Regions from separate parts of the Homo sapiens genome. Here all the other regions are linked to region 2. The links are contacts of gene promoters, found by promoter capture Hi-C in human tissues and cell types (Jung and others, 2019). All regions are on one chromosome and are shown on one strand. The core of a region is centred on a gene start or on the middle of the fragment in contact, and the rest is flanking DNA. Distances in the headings are between cores, read along the strand shown. Region 1 has its middle 75 kb from the start of LINC00929. Region 2 holds the start of GABRA5 (gamma-aminobutyric acid type A receptor subunit alpha5). Region 3 has its middle 140 kb from the start of LINC02248. Region 4 has its middle 38 kb from the start of LINC00929.

Region 1 (3,561 bases), core at 640-3,139, 680 kb after region 2:
GTTTACACTTCATTCACCAGTGCAAGGTTTGAATTAAAATTGCTTCGGAGACATAGGTATTAGCACTGAACACGATGCCTGAGTTTAGGACCTTGTTATCAAGCACACATTGATTAAAACCCCAACATATGTTTTATGACTGTTTCCTCTATTGTGTGTATCCAGCTGTAGAGATTTGGCTGTGCATTTCTCTATATACAGTCTTGTTCTTTTCTGCCTATGGAGAAAATGTTTAAAGCATATTAATGTCTCCTCTTCTATAATAAACAGGAAAGGATGGACACAGAATGGACCAGGAGTCATCTAAATAGATACCAAAAAATTAGGAATTACAGCAAACAGGAAGAGCTGATGAGACCAATGATCACTTCTCATAACTCGGTGGAAAGAGGAATTTGGCACGAGGGATGATGGATTAACCACCTGTCTCATGAAGGGAGGTATTGCTGCAGACAGACTACATCATCTCCTGGCATGGACAGCCTCTGAATTACTAATAGTTCAATACTATGAAATAAGCTTTTGTGGGTCAAAAATAGACATTTTTGTGTGGCTCATGTTAATAATTAGAGTGCACTATAATAAGCAAATAGTCATCAGTGTGAGGCTCCCAGTGGCTGGCCTTTGATTGGCAGAGGTTCAGAGAGGTGGCTTCAAGGGCAGAGTTGCAAATGGAAAACGAGTGGCCAAAGGGAGGGTGAGTGTCTCTGCATAATTTATAATAGTGAGTCACACTCACTATTGAGTGTTTCCTAGACCATAGCTGGCATTTCTGCTGTGATGGCTCTGAGTGGCTACTGGGGAAGAGAGCGAACTACATGTGGGACATCTGAAAGCAATTATCTTGGTAAAGTGATATGACAACAATAAATATTCACCTTTTAAAGCAGACCTCTCAGCCTCTGGAGCCAATTTGCAAATTGGGAGATAAATGACACATACACAAATATCATTTCATTTATTAATAAGTCTTCATAGACCTATACCTGTACCCCAGGTTGAAAATCATCACCAAACATTGAACAAATGCCTGCTATGGTTAAGGCATCATTTTAAGATCTGGGGAGGACACAAAGAGGCATGAGACACAGTTATTGTCCTTCAGGATTTTAGACTGTGGTTGGAAACAGGGTATATGGTACAAAAACAGAGAGACCAGGCCAGGCGTGATGGCTCACTCCTGTAATCCCAGCACTTTGGGAGGCCAAGGTGAGTGGATCATCTGAGGTCAAAAGTTTGAGACCAGCCTGGCCAACATGGCAAAACCCCATCTCTACAAAAAAAAAAAAAAAAAAAAAAATTAACCATGTGTGTTGGTGCATGCCTGTAATCCCAGCTACTCGGGAGGCTGAGGCACGAGAATTGCCTGAATCCAGGAGGTGGAGGTTGCAGTGAGCAGAGATCATGCCACTGCACTCCAGCCCGGACAACAGAATGAGACTCTGTCTCAAAAAAAATAAAATAAAAAGAAGAGAGAGAAACCAATACTCTTTTGATAATTTCTAGATGAAGACATAGAATAATAACGTATTATGAAATATTACATGCTATTACCATATAAGTCCATCTTTGCTGTGGAGTGTAGGTGCATGGCACAGGTGTCCTGGCTCCCACACCATAGGGCTGGTCTGTGGTTCTGCTTCCACAAAGACAGTCTCTAATGCTGACTGACAGTGGGAAAACCGGGGTCTGGGCAGCCAAGATGTCCCTCTTATTCACTCAATTTCTGAACCAAAGTTCCACTGTTAACAGAAAAAATGCAAAGTATCAAGGAACGTGGCTTAAATCTGAGGGTACAAGGACTTTTCAACCCACATCCTAGAATGAGGCACACAAGTCTCCAGTCATTCCCAAGGGCAAGAGAGGAGGAAAACAGCTGCCCCCCACCAGGAGCTCTCTCCTAGGAGGAAATGAGAGGACAAGACCCATGCTGAGAATTCCTGGCCCATTCTTCTGCAGAGAAGAGCCAGATAACCTCCCAGCACCCCACCTCCAGCACAGAGTGAATGAGGGAGTCATGGGAGGGCTGAGGTACCATGTGTCCTGCCCTGAGATGCAGCCCACCCTGCACTCGTATCAGTGAAAGCAGAAGATGATGCAAGGGTTCCCAAAACCTTTAACAACCACTTCAATGTCAATCTACTGCAGACCGTCATGCAAGGAGGCAAAAAAACACAGATTTGGGGTCAGAATTTGGGACCAATGAATGAAATGCTGGTTTGGACACTGTTGACCAAGTAGGACTCATGAGTTACCGTAACAATCATCATGGAGCCAAGCCTTCAGGGTTAAAAGTCCCACTCCCTCCCTCCCTATCCCTTTAATGAAATGCAATGTCCAACCACCTCACGGACAGTGGGTTCTCCATAAAGTAGCAGAACTTCCTGTGAAAACGCTGATTTCCACATATAAGTCACGGAGGTGGTGGCAGAAGAACCATGGGTTCTGTAATTGCTGCTTACAGGATAATTAAGAGCTTAATATTATAAAAGTTAATTATAAAATTATATTAATTAATTCTAATAGCCCAACGATCCTTCTGGAATTGATGTCTGAGAAGAACAAAGTCCCCAGAGAGGTCCACAGGGAAAAGGTCGAGTCAGACAGAAGTTTTCAGGCCCAGAGCTGTGCCTGCTTTGTTCTGAGCTCTAGTTTGGGAAACACAGGAAGAAACGAAGAGGGACACATAGTGACAGGGACCCTTGGGCTCCTGGGGGTGGTGGCAGGAGCACATGAGTGACAGCTGTTTCCAAATATGGACCGATGACAAGATGCTTCCAAGAGCCAAAAGGTAGGCCTTATTAGTACTTTGTAAACTTTCTCAGGCTTACATTATACAAGGGGTAATTTTTAAAAATAATCATCATGATCTTTTCTAAATGAAAAATTTGATGATGCATTTACTATCCAAATTACTGTAATAATGAACTGCCTTCTAGTCAATTTCTAGTGTAATTGGGGGATCTATGGCATAAAGCTTAAGACTTAGACACAATTCTCCTCCTCTCTGTCACAAGCTTCAAGCCTGATATTTTCCTGGCAACTCAAAGCCTTCTTGTAATATTGTCAGCAGTATGTCTTCCTCCCCAAAATTTATAAAAAGTGGTTGTGTTTGGATTTGTTTTTCTTACAGATTAGGAAAGATCTTTTCATCTTTCAAGTGAAAAAGATATCTGCTAGCAAGAATAATGAGGATTTGAGAAATCATTGTGGAAAAAGAAGATTTGTTTATACGAAGCCAGTGACTTTGGCCTGACTGTCATATGTAAGCACATCTGACAGAAGCAAAGGCAAACCTAATAATCCAATGATTACACCCCGAGCCCATGTAATTTGAGAAGTGAGCATCTTGGGGGTAGTTTAAATCAGGGGCTTTGGTGAAAGGCAGATCTTCTTCTTCATTTTTTTTTTTTTTTTAATTTTACTTTTAGAAAACCCTGCAGAACATGCAGGTTTGTTACACAGCTAAATGTGTGCCATGGTTGTTTGCTGCACCTATCAACCTGTCACCGAGGTACTAAGCCCCGCATTCATTAGCTATTTTTCCTAATGCTCTCCCTC
Region 2 (3,441 bases), core at 395-2,894:
TGGGGAAAAGCACATTTAAGAAACAGGTTTTCTGCAGGATCACAATACTGTGACAACTGCCTATAAAAGAGTGTGGCTACTTTCCCGGCATTCGGTCCCCGTGACTACATAACTTAAGCACTGCATCTGTGGAAGTCTCTCCACTCAATGCTGGACCCTAATTAATGTATTTGAGATCCAGGCAGACATTGTCCCTGGGCTCAACGACTAACCTTCCTGAAAACACGCATTTCTCAGTATGCGCATAACGCAAATAGGTGCTCACAGGCATCCGAACAGTATGCTTCGAAAAGAAGCATTTTCCCAAGAAGCCCCCCCAACCCCCATCCCCCGCAAACTCCGGAATTGGGAGACACAACAGGTACTTCCACCTCGGAAGCGAAGGCCTTCTGCGACTCCTGCCAAGAAGGGCAGGGTGCCATGCGGTGGTCGCCTGGGCGCGTCCGGGGGGCTCGTCGCGGGGCCCGGGCCAGAGCCAGGCGGCGAGCACGCGGCGCTGCATGCGGGAAACCCGGGCGGCGCCTCCCGCCGCCCCTCAGCCCCGAGCCAGGGACCCCCAGGAGAGGCTGCGCTCCCACGACCCTCCGGACCCCCACAGAGGCTCACCAGGGCCGGCGCGCCAGGGCAGGTGGGCGCGGGGGCTGCACTGCGGAGCCGCAGCCTGGGTCGCCCTGGCACCCGCGGTCGCCACCCGCGCGGTCCGCAGCGGCACGCCGAGGGTCTCCAGCTCCCCGGCCCTCCCCGGCTCGCTCCCGGCTTTCGCAGACTTCCCCTGCTCCTGCCCCGGGTACGAGCCAAGCGCTCCGCCAGGCAGCGCCTTCCTCCTGGGCTGGGAGCGCGCGGTGCAGCAGCGACTCCAAGTCCCCTGGCCTCGAGCAGCCCGCGCGACACGCGCGCGACACCCCCGCGGGGTCCGAGTCCACCCCGCGAGCAGCGCCGGGACGCCGCGCGCCTCAGAGCCCCGGGGCTGACGCTGGCTTTCCAGGTGGGCGATCTCACCCCTCCGGCTCCCGTGATGGTGGCAACGGGTGTCCCCCACCCCCAACCGGTCACCGCGCCCTGGTGCCCCGTCCGGCAGGGATGAGCCGCCCGGACCCCGCTCTCTCCCGCGCCCGGCTTCAGCCCCGCAGTCGCCAGGGTAAAGTTTGCGCTCTGGCCTGGCTGCGCGCCCCGCCTGCTCTGCACCTCTCCTCCCCGGCCACGCAGCCTGCCGCTCAGGCGCCCCGAGGAGAAGGGTGCGGACCGAGCCGGGGCGGCCGGTCCTCTTCCCCGCTCGCGTCCTCTTACCCCACTGCCCCGGCCCAGCGCGCCCAGGGCTCACCCTGCGCGCCGGCCCCGGGAGGCGAGCCGTCGGTGAGGATGCATCCTCCTTCTCCTCCGCCTGCTCTCGCCCGGCTGGCAGGCGCGGAAGGCCGGTGCGGCGTCACCGCCCCATGCTGCCAGCGCGAACTTCCCCGGCACTCCCGGCGGAGCGGCTCTTGCGCCCCGCGCTCCCGCCGCCGCCCTGCAGCTCCGCTCCGCGCCGCGCCCCGGGCCGCGCGCCGCCCGCCGCAGAGCCCCCCAGCGCCCCCGGCGCACTCGCGCCCGCTCTCACCTCGCCCGAGCGCCACATGTCGTCTCTGGGCTGGAGGATCGGCCCTCTGCAGAGGTGCTCCGGTAGAGGCCGCCAGACGCTCAGCAAATGCGCCCTTGGCCGAGCTGGGCGGAGGGGGAGGGCGCAGGGCCCCCGGCTCGGCCTGCAAGGGGAGAGGCCCTGTTCTGCTGAAGTTTCTCCAGGGCCCTCAACAGCATCTTCGGCGCCTCGTGTAGTCACCACCGCCCGCTTGTAGAGCAGGGATGGGAGGGCAGTGTCAGCAGTCGGGTGATAGAGGCCTGGACTCCGACAGCTTTGCTCCCTAGAGCCGGCCCCAACGCCTCCCTGCCCAGGCCTGGGTCCTTCCCGGGTGCTCCATGGCACCCCTTACATGCGCATCTCTTAGGCGCTTCTGAAAGAAGCTGGCCTGTGGACATTCTTTTCATCTCACTCATAGACAGGAATGCATAACTACGGGAGGGAAAGCCAGGGTCACATTGGACTCGATTAGAATGAAATCCTTACCTAACGCAGTGTATATCTGGGGGTTTTCTGAAGTTCCATTTCTTGACAACAAGCCGCAGTGGCAAACGGGAAAGGGCCAGGAGCCCTGGGGGCTGCAGGTCGGAGAGCGCCTCTGGGGTGACGGGGCGGGATCTCCCCAGCAGGGCTTCCGAGCCACGTCGGGTCACTGCCTCATTAGCCACGTACATGGGGTCTTACTATGGTCATTACGTCGGTGTGTCGTCCGTCCTAGTGGTGCAGTTCCTGGGAGGTGAGGGTGGCATTAATGACAACTGCGCGGCAGCAGGGCCCCTTCAAACAACACAAGTAAGAGCGCATCGTCTTGGGTTTGCCAGGTCTTGCTTCCTCAGGAGGTGGGGGACTCTCGACTATAACACCCAGTGGAAAACGTTCAAGACTCAAAGGAAAGCCACTGAAAACGTGATGGGGAGGTTTACTTACACCATTGTCCCATTCCTTTTGTGAAACTGCATTATTCATAATCTCTTTTAACAGAATAATGGTAAGTAAAGGCAAATTCCTAACTCCCCTCCAGGAAAGATCTTTGACCTTCCAGTGTAGGAAGCCTCTCATTTTTCCAGTTATCTCTAATACAGTGTATTCCAAATCTAAGTTACCTGTTAATACTTCTGCACATTCCAGAAATTCTGAAATTTTCTGAAAAACAAAACTTGTAAATCTATTCCAGGAATAGGACATAAATATACATAAATGTGCAAATATACAGGAAGTGTTTCTCTGAATATACATTTAGCCACACTATTAAATAACTGTTTCCAGTGGTTCTTCAGGAAATATGAATGAAATAAGATGCTAATTTGAATTTTCTAATTCTAAAATGGATCACTGAACGTATGCATTTCTTCATTTTCTAATTTCCCAAAAGATGTACCACTAGGGTGAAATTCCTTGGGAGACATTAAATTTTAAAAAGTTAACAACATGGTTTTATGATCAGCCTAATATAATTTTCACCTATTAGGTGTTGGAATTCTAACACCTAATACCAGCGACAGCTGCTCTTCTCTCAGGATTAAACAGCATAATGCAAATCAAAGAGTTGGAAGAATTGGTAAATTTTAAACTTCACAGCTTGTCACACAAAGTCATTCGGTGTGAGTTTGCAAAAATAAATGTATATAAACAAGGGATGATTTTTGTATTAGCGAGGGTTATAGACATTAATTCTTAATAATAAAAGAAATGTCAGCTGTAAGGAAATATGTTCTTTTGATGGATTATGTTTAAAACTTCCACTTTTTTTGGTACACTTTCTATCAGCTTTATGTCCACACAACACATATTATTGAATATATAAAAATCATTTTAAGTTAGAGTCATTC
Region 3 (3,514 bases), core at 427-2,926, 610 kb after region 2:
GCCTGAAGTTCTAGTTGCTGGAGAACAAGAATGTTCTAGCAGGACCAGAATCAGCTCGAATAAAGGAAGCTGAAATAATTTTTATGATGGAGACACTTGTTAGAGGACAGAAACAATCTCTTTTACATTGTGTGATAAATAATAATAAGAGGTTGGCCAGGTGCAGCGGCTCATGCTTGCAATCTCAACATATTGGGAGGCTCGGGTGGGAGGATAGCTTGAGGCCAGGAGTTTGAGAATAGCCTGGGCAACATAGTGAGACTTCTTCTCTACAAAAAAAAAAAAAAAAAAAAAATTAGCCAGGCTGCTAGCCTGTGCCTGTGGTCTTAGCTACTCAGGAGGCTGAGGCAGAAAGACTGCTTGAGCCAAGGAATTGGAGGCTGCAGTGAGCTATGATCATGCCACTGAATTCCACCCTGGGCAACTGAGCGAGATGCTGTCTTTAAAAAAAAAAAAGAAAGAAAGAAAGGAAAAAAGAAGAAATAAAACTGAAATTTAGAAAAGTAAAAATTGGACCTCAACCATGCCTTTGGAGTTCCATGTACATGTTTAGGAGAGATGAATAATGATATTAATTTACAAAACAAAAGAAAAATTATCTTATTAACTTAAGTAGTGGTAAAGTTGGAAAATCTAAAGTTCTAAAAGACTTGAGAGAAATACACCTCTTATAATTTGAGTTTATTGAAAACAAATACTATTTGGAAAGATATTTTGAATGAAACAACATTCCTGCAAAATGCTTCACCCCGGAGGCAATAAGCAAACCCAGTGCCCAGACACTGGTTCCTTACACCATACTTCAATACACGGAATCAGGGTGCCATGAAGAAATGGCTGATTCTAGGGTTGGGGCAGGGAATATACAATATGAGCCTAGAGCATCTTATAGTATCAGAAAGCAAACAAGTGCTCAAAAATCAAACGATGGGCTTATGAAGGGGACACAAGAGCCAACTGAAAGAGCTCCCAATGGCCAAAGCTGGAACAATTTGAGAAATAAAATAAGTAACATTGTACTGGATTATAACCTGGAGCATAAAATAAATATCCATGAGTGCATACTGGTATAAATACATGATTGCATACACAAATAAGTAGGGGAGAATAGGCAATTCTCCATGTAAAAGAATTCCAAATAATTTTATGTAGCTATTATTTCCTCCAAGAGGTGAAGCATAGCTCCACAGCCTTAAGTGTGGGCTTCTTTCCAAAGTGATTTCCAAAATAATTTCCTTCCAAAGAGCACAGCATAGGAAGAGGGAAAACAAAGTAATTTTACAGTGGAGAAATCTGATGTCTACTGCTTCAGCCAGATGATCAAAGTGAGCATCCGCAGTGATGTTGATTGTATGCACCTCTGATATGATATAATTAATATGGCACTTTCCCTCCATGGTCTTCTTCCCAAGAACCCATAAACTCAATGGGAAAAATACCTGACAAACTCAAACTAAGGAAAATTCTACAAAATAGCCAATACATCTCAAAACTGTCAAGCCCATCAAAAGCAAGACACTGTAGCCAAGAGGAGCCTGAGAAAACGACTAAATGCAATGTAGGATCCTGGATGGAATCCTGGAACAGAAAAAGATGTTAAGGAGAAACTAAAGAAATCTGAATAATGTATGGACTCAAATTAATTACAAAATGATTTATAGTGCCATGATAAGACCCAGATTTCTGGAGTGGGCATTATTGCAATTACTTTTAAAATGGGAGAAAATATGGCTGGGGGCAGTGGCTCATGCCTTGTAATCCCAGCACTTTGGGAGGCTGATGCAGGTAGATCACCTGAGGTCAGGATTTCGAGACCAGCCTGGCCAATATGGCAAAACCCTTCGTCTACTAAAAATACAAAAATTATGGGGGCATGATGGCGGTTGCCTATAATCCCAGCACTACGGAGGCTGAGGCATGAGAACTGCTTGAACCCGGGAGGCAGAGGTTGCAGTGAGCCAAGAGTGCACCATTGCCGTCAAGCATGGGCAACAAGAGTGCAACTCCATCTCAAAAAATAAAATAAATAAAATAAAATAAAGTAAGAGAAAATATGAAAATAAATATATAAGAAGAGGCAGGCTGAGGCAGGGGGAGCCCATAATCAACTGATGCACTTGAAAATACAGATCCTCTGTGTCCTGAAATTCCTTTTGGAGGTAAAATTAGAGAAATTGTTTGCTCTCAACATAGCAAATGAATCAGCATTTTGGACACACAGTATCAAGCAACCAGGAATATTTTTTATTTTTTTAGCTAGTAATCACATTTCATAAGAAGGCGAAGCATAGACATGAGCCCAGGGTAAATGCTGTGTTTATAAGCATGGCCTTATGTTAAACTATGCTTCTCAATGGGTAACTTTGAAGCCAGGAGGCTGTGCCCTTCCCTGGCCATTAGAGAGCATGGTTTTGTGAAAGTGCCTGTAGACATGGTTCCCAGACCCCTCCCATTCACACTGCAGAGTTGAAGAGGATATTTTTTTGAATGGATAAAATAAGAGCTGCTTCCTTTATTTTAAGGAGCGATAGCTAGTCCCTCCAACACAATACTTTGTTCACTTATTACAGTCAGTCGACAGTGTGCACTGAGTATCATCTCTGTGCCTGGCACTGTGTTTATACTTGGGGACATAAAGATGCATAAAGTGGGGAAGGATTCTGGGAAGATGGTGGAGCAGGAAGAACTGACTCTGTCTCCCACTGAGACAACTGCACTGACAGAATGTGTCTTATGTAACTATTTTGGAACTCTGGAGTCTACTGAAGACTCGCACCTTCCACATAAATGTGTTTAATTTTGGCCAATTTCAGCTTTTAGTACGGTAGCTACCCAAGCCCCCTACCATCCCCGTGGCAGTTGGCTGTATTGTGTTCCTGGAACAATGGCACATAGTGGTGGGAGCCAGGGTGAGCAAAATGTACCCTGTCCTCTAAATATCAGTAAATCTACGCTCTGGTTGCTGATTGCTGCCTCTCATCACAGAGGTGCAAAGAGGTGTGTGGCTGCTATTGTTGCACCTCCTTCAATCCATGCAAGCCCCTCCTCTTTCACAGCCATTGTTGCAGTCCCCTCCTCCTATGGCCAAAGTGACTGCCAAGAGAATTAAAGGGATTGCATACTTCCCTCTCCCCTTTAAAGGGCCCGTACTAATCCCCACCCCAGCACCCCCACCCTGCCTTTTTAGGAGCCAGACATTAAATGCTAGGTAATTCAAAAGCAATTGCATATATGGGGAAAGTAAGAAAGTGGCCATACATGCCCAAAGAAAGGCACAGGCTCAAAAAAGATCTAAGAAGACCTTAAGTTTACACCTCAGGCTGTTCTTTGGCACAAAGACTACAATGATCAAAAACAGTTTGAGGCTGTTTATGAAAACACCTGACCAACATGGTGAAACCCTGACTCTACTAAATACTAAAAATTAGCTGGGTGGGTGGTGCATGCCTGTAATCCCAGTTCTTTGGGAGGCTGAGGCAGGCGGATCATGAGGTCAGGAGATCGAGACCATCCT
Region 4 (3,426 bases), core at 256-2,755, 710 kb after region 2:
GGAAGGGCCTCCCTACAGGAACTCCAGCAACTCCAGCCAGGGGCTCAGAGACAGAACTCTGAGCTCCCTGGGCCTGAGCCCCTAGTGGGCATGGTGGCTGTAGTCTCCACAAACCAGCAGACTTAGTCTTTCCTCCTGCTAGTTCCGAGGAATCTGGGCAGTGCAAAAGAGTGGGTTTCCCCCCAGCATAGCCACCCCCTCCATCAAGGGGCAGCCAAAGTGCTTTGTTAAACTGGTCCTGCTCCCCTTGCCACCCAACTGGGTGAGATCCTCCAACAGGAGTTGTCAGACACCCTATACAGGAGCATTCCTGCTGGCATCAAGTTGGTGCCCCTTGAGGTCAGAAATCCCAGATGAAGGAGCAAGCAGCCATCTTTGCTATTCTTCAGCCTCCTTGAGTGTCATCTCCAGGTGCAGGAGTGAACCAGATGAATAGGGCCTGAAGGGAACCCCCAGCAAACCACAGCAATCCTACAGAAGAGAGATCTGACTATTGAAAGAAAAACAAACAAACAGAAAGCAACAACAACAGTGTCAACAAAAAAGTCCCCACAAAACCTCATCTAAGGATCAGCAGCCTCAAAGTTCAAAACTAGATAAACCCATGAAGATGAGAAAGAATCAATGAAAAAAAATGCTGAAAACCCAAAAGGCCAGAGTGCCTCTTCTCCTCCAAATGATTGCACCACCTCTCCAGCAAGGGCACAGAATTGAACAGAGAATGAGATGGATGAATTTACAGACATAGGCTTCAGAAGATGGATAATAAAAAACTCTGCTGCAGTAAAGGAGCGTGTTCTAACTCAATGCAAAGAAGCTAAGAACCTTGATACAAGGTTACAGGAGCAGCTAACTATAATAACCAGCTTAGAGAGGAACATAAATGATCTGATGGAGCTGAAAAACCCAGCATGAGAACTTTGTGAAACATACACAAGTATCAATAGCTAAATCAATCAAGCAGAAGAAAGAATATTGGAGATTGAAGACCATCTTGCTGAAATAAGCAGGCAAACAGGATTAGAGAAAAAAGAATGAAAAGGAATGTACAAAACCTCCAAGAAATATGGGACTATGTAAAAAGACCAAATCTACAATTGATTGGAGTACCAGAAAGAGATGGGGAGAATGGAACCAAGTTGGAAAACACATTTCGGGATATTATCCAGGAGAACTTCCCCAACCTAGCAAGGCAGGCCAACATTCAAATTCAGGAAATACAGAGAATACCACTAAGATACTCCACAAGAAGATCAACCCAAGACACATAATCATCAGCTTCTCCAAGGTTGAAATGAAGGCAAAAATGTTAAGAGCAACCAGAGAGAAAGATCAGGTCACCTACAAAGGGAAGCCCATGAGACTAACAGCAGATCTCTCAGCAGAAACCCTACAAGCCAGAACAGAGTGGAGGCCAATATTCAATATTCTTAAAAAAAAGAATTTTCAACCCAGAATTTCATATCCAGGCAAACTAAGCTTCATAAGCAAAGGAAAAATAAAATCCTTTTCAGATAAGCAAATGCTGAGGGACTTTGTCACCATCAGGCTTGTCTTGCAAGAGCTCCTGAAGGAAGCACTAAATATGGAAAGGAAAAACGGGTACCAGCCACTGCAAAAACACACCAAAATATAAAGACCAATGACACCATGAAGAAACTGCATCAACTAGTGTGCAAAATAACCAGATAGCATCATGATGACAGGATAAATTTATACATAACGGTATTAACCTTAAATGTAAATGGGCTAAATGCCCCCAATTAAAAGACACAGACTGGCAAATTAGATGAAGATTCAAGACCCATGGGTGTGCTGTATTCAAGAGACCCAACTCACGTGCAAAAACATACACAAGCTTAAAATAAAGGGTTGGAGGAAAACTTACCAAGCAAATGGAGAGCAAAAAAAAAAAAAGCAGGGGTTGCAATCCTAGTCTCTGACAAAACAGACTTTAAACCAACAAAGACCAAAAAAGATAAAGAAGGGCATTACATAATGGTAAAGGGATCAGTGCAACAAGCTAACTATCCTAAATATATATGCACCCAATACAAGAGCACCCAGATTCATAAAACAAATTCTTAGAGACCTACAAAGACTCCCACAAAATAATAGTGAGGGACTTTAACACCCCACTGTCAATATTAGGCAGATCAACAAGACAGAAAATTAACAAGGATATCCAGGACTCGAACTCAGCTCTGGATCAAGTGGACCTAATAGACATCTACAAAACTTTCCATCCCAAATCAACAGAATATACATTCTTCTCAGTGCCACATGGCACTTATTCTAAGATCGACCACATAATTGAAAGTAAAACACTCCTCACTCAGCAAATGCAAAAAAACTGAAATCATAACAAATAGTCTTTCAGACCACAGTGCAATCAAATTAAACTCAGGATTCAGAAACTCAATACGACACAAGTACAAAGAAATTGAACAACCTGCTCCTGAATGACTCCTGGGTAAATAATGAAATTAAGGCAGAAATCAAGAAGTTCTTTGAAACAAATGAGAGCAAAGAGACACAGCTCTGAGACACAGCTAAAGCAGTGTTAAGAGGGAAATTTATAGCACTAAATGCCCACATCAGAAAGCTAGAAATATCTCAAATCGACACCCTAACATCACAATTAAAAGAACTAGAGAAGCAAGAGCAAACAAATCCAAAAGCTAGCAGAAGACAAGAAATAGCTAAGATCAGAGTGGAAGTGAAGGAGATAGAGACACGAAAAGCCCTTCAAAAAATCCATGAATCCAGGAGCTGGTTTTTTGAAAAAATTAATGAAATAGATAGACTATTAGCTAGACTAATAAAGAAAAAAAGAGAGAAGAATCAAATAGACACAATAAAAAATGATAAAGGGGATATCACCACTGACTCCACAAAAATACAAACTACTATTAGAGAATACTGTAAACACCTCTATGCAAACAAACTAGAAGAAAAGGATAAATTCCTGGACACATGCACCCTCCAAAGACCAAACCAGGAAGAAGTAGAATACCTGAATAGATCAATAACTATTTCTTAAATTGAGGCAGTAATTAATAGCCTACCAAAAAAAAAAAGAAAAAAGCCCAGGACCAGATGGATTCACAGCCTAATTCTGCCAGAGGTACAAAGAGGAGCTGGTACCATTCCTTCTGAAACTATTACAAACAATTGAAAAGGAGGGACTCCTCCCTAAATCATTTTACAAGGCCAGCCTCATCCTGACACCAAAACCTCACAGAGACACAACAAAAAAAGAAAACTTCAGGCCAATATCTCTGATGAACATTGATGCAAAAATCCTCAATAAAATACTAACAAACCAAACCCAGCAGCACATCAAAAAGCTTATCCACCATGATCAAGTCGGTCTTATCCCTGGGATGCAAGGCTGGTTCAACATATGCAAATCAATAAACATAA

The links. Contacts are between HindIII fragments. The study calls those that stand out against the background at their distance.
Region 1: a fragment that was not itself captured here is called in contact with the fragment with the promoter of GABRA5 in region 2 in 1 of the 25 tissues and cell types used here (dorsolateral prefrontal cortex).
Region 3: a contact is called between a fragment that was not itself captured here and the fragment with the promoter of GABRA5 in region 2, in 1 of the 25 tissues and cell types used here (H1 embryonic stem cells).
Region 4: a fragment that was not itself captured here is called in contact with the fragment with the promoter of GABRA5 in region 2 in 2 of the 25 tissues and cell types used here (H1 embryonic stem cells and dorsolateral prefrontal cortex).

The regions. Positions count from the first base shown.
Region 1 is chr15:26,188,535-26,192,095 of GRCh38, reverse strand. No RefSeq gene overlaps it. Among named protein-coding and RNA genes, the nearest start is that of LINC00929, 75 kb to the right of the region's middle. The HindIII fragment of the contact is 3,638 bases long and covers 71-3,561 here.
Region 2 is chr15:26,865,265-26,868,705 of GRCh38, reverse strand. GABRA5 (gamma-aminobutyric acid type A receptor subunit alpha5) reads right to left here and starts at 1,644. Exons shown (of 11, transcript NM_000810.4): 1 at 1,595-1,644. The HindIII fragment of the contact is 20,920 bases long and covers 1-3,441 here.
Region 3 is chr15:26,253,932-26,257,445 of GRCh38, reverse strand. No RefSeq gene overlaps it. Among named protein-coding and RNA genes, the nearest start is that of LINC02248, 140 kb to the left of the region's middle. The HindIII fragment of the contact is 7,226 bases long and covers 1-3,514 here.
Region 4 is chr15:26,152,311-26,155,736 of GRCh38, reverse strand. No RefSeq gene overlaps it. Among named protein-coding and RNA genes, the nearest start is that of LINC00929, 38 kb to the right of the region's middle. The HindIII fragment of the contact is 4,239 bases long and covers 1-3,426 here.